2 separate regions of the Homo sapiens genome follow, and region 1 is linked to region 2. The links are contacts of gene promoters, found by promoter capture Hi-C in human tissues and cell types (Jung and others, 2019). All regions are on one chromosome and are shown on one strand. The core of a region is centred on a gene start or on the middle of the fragment in contact, and the rest is flanking DNA. Distances in the headings are between cores, read along the strand shown.

Evidence for each region. Contacts are between HindIII fragments. The study calls those that stand out against the background at their distance.
Region 1: a fragment that was not itself captured here is called in contact with the fragment with the promoter of NTN1 in region 2 in 4 of the 25 tissues and cell types used here (heart left ventricle, mesendoderm cells, neural progenitor cells and 1 more).

The regions. Positions count from the first base shown.
Region 1 is chr17:9,196,924-9,199,623 of GRCh38, forward strand. All of the region lies in intron 5 of NTN1 (netrin 1), which reads left to right. Among named protein-coding and RNA genes, the nearest start is that of NTN1, 180 kb to the left of the region's middle. The HindIII fragment of the contact is 7,572 bases long and covers 1-2,700 here.
Region 2 is chr17:9,020,121-9,022,820 of GRCh38, forward strand. NTN1 (netrin 1) reads left to right here and starts at 1,390. Exons shown (of 7, transcript NM_004822.3): 1 at 1,390-1,465; 2 at 2,191-2,700. The coding sequence starts at 2,254. RefSeq lists silencers at 752-801, 852-1,641 and an enhancer at 788-1,331. The HindIII fragment of the contact is 11,312 bases long and covers 1-2,700 here.

The sequences.
Region 1 (2,700 bases), core at 151-2,650, 180 kb after region 2:
GACTGTGCATCTCTTCCCAATTCTGCATTCAGGGTGTCCTGCTGGGAGTTTGAAATTGGCCATGGTGGGAATATTTACACTTCGGAAGTTGACAAATGGTAAAATCAAAGCATTTTTTTTTTTTAGTTCCCCAGAGAGCCAGTTGTCAGACATTCCTCAGCACAGCATTGTCCAAAAGGCATCCTGAGAGTGAAATTCAGGCTCTCAATACCAGAAGGAACCTAGAGATAGGTCATCCGATCGGGCCTGCACATCTGACAGATGGGGAGACTGAGGCCCAGAGGAGGACAGTGGCTTGTCTTAGGTCATGCAGTGAGTCAATGGCAGAACCGGTATTTCCACTTTACCACGGTCCTTCAAGTAGACCATCCTTTCAAGCAGGAAGCTATGGAGTGACACAGAGGCTTAGCAAAGCTTCCTCCTCCTGAAGAGGGATTAGAAATTCATGACGTGGGCCAGGCGTGGTGGCTCACACCTGTAATCCCAGCACTTTGGGAGGCCAAGGTGGGCAGATCATCTGAGGTCAGGAGTTCGAGACCAGCCTGGCCAACATGGCGAAACCCTGTCTCTACTAAAAATATAAAAAATTAGCCAGGCGTGGTGGAGGGCACCTGTAGTCCCAGCTACTTGGGAGGCTGAGGCACGAGAAACACTTGAACAGAGGAGGTGGAGGTTGCAGTGAGCTGAGATCACAGCACTGCACTCCGGCCTGGGTGACAGAGCAAGACTCTGTCCAAAAAAAAAAAAAAAGAAGGAAGAAAAAGAAAAGAAATTCATGGAAGGGGAAATGGGTTTTAGAGAAGACTGCTTCAAGATTTTCTTCAGGCTGAAGCTGGGCTAGGCATCTACCAGCCTCCCTCTTCCCCTGCCCTAGTCTCCTGGACCAGCCTTCCTTCTGTCCTACGAGGCCACCTCCTTCAGCCCAAGGATTAGGAAGTTGCACTTCAGCATCTAAAAATCTTCCCATGGTCCAAGATACCTTCACAGTAGCTTCTATCTTCACCAGAGAAGCCTCCAAGAAGGTGGTGACCTTTTGGGATTGTCCTGGACTTACCCTTCCCTCTTCTTCTTTGAGGCTAGTTGATGGCTGTGGGTGGGATGCCAGCCATCCACCCAGGTTATCGGGGCCCTGCTGTCTTTGGCTTTAATTCTCCCCAGAACCTCAGGGGGCCCGAGACAGGGATTCTTGTGTGGGTGATTTATTGAGGGGGTGCTTTCAGGAGAAACCAGTAAGGGCATGAGGGAAGCACGAGAGTGCAGGGGAAGAAACTGGGAAAACACAAGGCTGCAGTGGAAGTCTAGCCTCAGCCTGATCACGCGGGAGCTTGGGAATCATATCCAAGAAGTTGTCATATTTACAGGCAAAAGGGCTGGGCAGTGATACCTGCCCAAGTCAGTCAGCCATTGGCTATGTTACATGGGCAAGGGCACCTATAACCTCCCGGATATCTCCAGGGAAAGCAGTGTCCATCCGTCAAGGGCAAACATTCAGAGAAGGGTGCAAGTGTGAGCTGCGTGCAGCTGGGTGCACAGGTCCAGTCAAGGGGCTCTGGGCGGGGCTCCAGCCACCTCTGCTATACTTGGTAGGTGATTTGGTGGGAAGGGAAGTTTTACTGGAATCTGGGGACCATCTGTGGGTTTCTGTTTTGTCCACTCTCCAAGAGCCCTACACTGTAGAAAAACCTGGTGGTTATTCTCTGAGGTCCCATGTCCTCCCTCCTGTGTCCAGCTGGTCTCAGTAATGACAGTCTTACTGATATCTCTCACATCTCTTCTCTAGAAGACCAGAGACCAAGGGGAACTGGAGCGAGAGAATCACAGCCCAGGAGTTCAGGCTCAGCTGTGGATCCTACAGATCCCTAAGTACTGTATCTGACCTTTTGCTGGGAAGATCACATGTAGACCTCCCAGAGAGACTTCCAAAACAGCTCTGACAGACAAAGGACTAACCGCTTTCACCTACGAGGGAGGCCATATGTGTGGGAGGCACCATTGAGCTCCATTCCTGGTACCCACTACCAGCTCCTGTTAGAAGCTGGGGAACAGTGACTTGGGCCCCTTGGGACAAGATAACAGGCATACCACCACGGCTGCACCCACTATTGTCCTAATTCAAACTCTTTCTCTACTTCTCACAACCCTGTATTGGTCAGGGAAGATTATGTGCTGTAACAAACAGCTCAGATAGTATAGTCCAGCTATTTCTTTTTCTTTCTTTCTTTTTGTTTGTTTGTTTGAGACAGTGTTTCGCTCTTGTTGCCCAGGCTGGAGTGCAGTGGCACAATCTCGGCTCATTGCAACCTCCGCTTCCTGGGTTCAAGCAATTCTCCTGCCTCAGCCTCCCAAGTAGCTGGGATTACAGGCACCCACCACCACGCCCAGCTAATTTTGTATTTTTAGTAGAGATGGAGTTTCAACATGTTGGCCAGGCTGGTCTTGAAGTCCTGACCTCAAATGATCCACCCACCTCAGCCTCCCAAAGTGCTGGGATTACAGGCATGAGCCATTGCACCCGGCCCTGCTATTTCTTACTTTATACCACAGTCCATCACAGCCCTGGATGGGTGGCTCCCTTCCAAGCAGTGAGTCAGGGGCCCAGGCCCCTTTCATCACATGGCTCTGCCATCTTCTAGGGCCTGTCATTGTGGGTTTCTCTGCATCCAGCCACAGTCAGGGAAAGAGAACATTGGGAGCTCTTGG
Region 2 (2,700 bases), core at 140-2,639:
GAGCCCCGAGGCCCCTTCTTAGATTCTCAGGGTTTATGAAAATGCCAATAAGACAAACTGAGGCACTTAATGGAGCTAATGCAGCAAGGCAGCCCTTGGGCCGGAACCAGGACCTGGGGCTTTTCATCCGGGTCTATTACTGGACCACACATCTACAAGTAACAAATAAACGAGCAGAGATTCCGTTCCAAACTCTCGGCCCAGTGTATTCCTTTCCCAGAGCTCTCTGGCTGCTGTTGCAAGATGACCAAAGGATGCTGTCACTGTCCTCAGTCTTTTTATTGGGGCGATGGAGAATGAGGCAAGGAGGGGCTGGGTGGCCCCGCAGATGCCCCATGACACCATCATTCGGCAAGGTTATGCATTTGACGAATGCCCTGCAGTGGAAGGAGCCCAGGCTTCTCTTCCTGTTTTTGATGTTTACTTGGGGGTTGATCTTGTGCGAGTTTCTTCAGCTCCCGGGACCCTCAGTTTCCTCATCTGCAAAATGGAGTTAATACAACAGCAAAGCTGCTGTGGAGGTCCCATGAGCTATTACAGGGCTTTGCACCCTTAAAAATGCGGTTGAGGAAGTACCGATACGCCTGCCTCAGGGGATCTGGGGAGGGCTGGGCTGTCCCCATGCCTGAGACCAGGCAGGCCCGTCTTGGAGGGGCGGTGGCCAGCGTCCAGGTGCTGCCAGCTTCCTACCCCTTCAGCCTCCTGCCCACCACTGCTCCCTTGGCTAGAACGAAGCCGCGTTCCCGACAGACAGGCTCACGCACGGTGATATCCGTGGGAGTGCGGGCGAGCAGCCCCTCCTCGCCGGACCCCGGGGGCTTCGGGCAAAAATGGAGAGCAGGCAGAGGTCACATCCTCCTCCTCTTCCTCACGCTCCCGGGCTGCGTGCCCACAGGGGCACAGCCCTGTGCGCGGTGCCACCGGGGGCCATCAGGCTGGGTTAGAGGAAGGCCCGACCTCCGCGCAGCAAAGAAAACAAACACAGATGTGTTTGGCTGGGACCGGGAGGGAGAAAGTGGCCCCCTTCCCCCGCCCGCGCGCTCCCCCGGGCGTGAGGCTCTCCGGGCGGCGCGGGGCGCGGGCGAGGCTGACAGTCCCCGGCGGCCCCTCCTCCCCCACGGGGTGCGCGCCTGGCCCGGCCCAGCCCCCTCTCCGGGGTTTCCCCGGGTGCTCTCCTCGCTTTCTCTTTGTCTCTGCTGTTCTTTCTCGGGCTCCCGGGTTCCCACCCGCCTGTGCTCTCCCTCTCGGGCGTCCGGGCCGGTTCCCTTTAACTTTCTTCTTTCCCGGGGTGAAAACTTTGCTCGGAGCTGGCGGCAGCTCGCGGACGTTATTGGCCGGCGCCCCGCCCGGCGGCCCCGCCCCCCGCCCCCGCGCTCCCCTCCGCCCCTCACTCCCAGCGCGAGTGGCGGCGGCGGCGGAGCCTTCGGGGGCGAGCGCGCGTGTGTGTGAGTGCGCGCCGGCCAGCGTGAGTGTGTGTGCGCCCCGGGCGCGGGCAGGGCAGCACTCCGAGCTCGGCGGGAGCGGCGGGAGCCGGGCGGCCGCGTAGTCACTCGGGCGAGAGAGGCGGCGGCGGGGCCGGGACCGGGGCTGGGGCTGGGGCAGCGGCGGCCGCGCCGGGCATGGAGCTGGCAAGCCCGCGCTGAGGCGGGACGCGCCTGCTAGCAGCGAGCGAGAGGCTCTCCGGCGACCGGCGCGCGGGCTCCCCGGAGGGGCCAGGCAAACTTTTCTTTCTCTTTTGCCCCCTCCAGAGGTAAAGTCCCGAACGCGGACTTTCCGGCGGGGACGCGATCGGGGGGCATCTGAGAGGGACCCCGGGCTGCGAGACGAAGGGGCGCGGGCCGTGCAGAGTCGGGGTCCCCCAGCTCTCCTGCGCCCGAAACTTGGGGTGCGAGGGGGGCTGGTCGCGGACGGGGAGACCGGCTCAGGCATGCCCCTCGGGCGGCGTGGGGGCGGCGGTGGCGGGGAAGCAGAGCGTTCTCCCGCCGGGCGGGGAAGAAGGGGCGCGAGCGGTGCGGACTTGGAGGGCCCCGGCTTCGCCGCCCGCGGGACTTTGGGGGAGAGAGGCGGGCAGTCGGCTGCGGGGTGGGTGCCCAGGAAGCCGGGCGTTCTCCCGCATCTCCGCTCGCCACCCCGCCGAGAGCTGGAGGGCGCGGGGCGGGCTGGCTGAGCGCAGCTCCCTTCTCTCCGCAGGCGCCTTCTGCGGCAGGCGGACAGATCCTCGGCGCGGCAGGGCCGGGGCAAGCTGGACGCAGCATGATGCGCGCAGTGTGGGAGGCGCTGGCGGCGCTGGCGGCGGTGGCGTGCCTGGTGGGCGCGGTGCGCGGCGGGCCCGGGCTCAGCATGTTCGCGGGCCAGGCGGCGCAGCCCGATCCCTGCTCGGACGAGAACGGCCACCCGCGCCGCTGCATCCCGGACTTTGTCAATGCGGCCTTCGGCAAGGACGTGCGCGTGTCCAGCACCTGCGGCCGGCCCCCGGCGCGCTACTGCGTGGTGAGCGAGCGCGGCGAGGAGCGGCTGCGCTCGTGCCACCTCTGCAACGCGTCCGACCCCAAGAAGGCGCACCCGCCCGCCTTCCTCACCGACCTCAACAACCCGCACAACCTGACGTGCTGGCAGTCCGAGAACTACCTGCAGTTCCCGCACAACGTCACGCTCACACTGTCCCTCGGCAAGAAGTTCGAAGTGACCTACGTGAGCCTG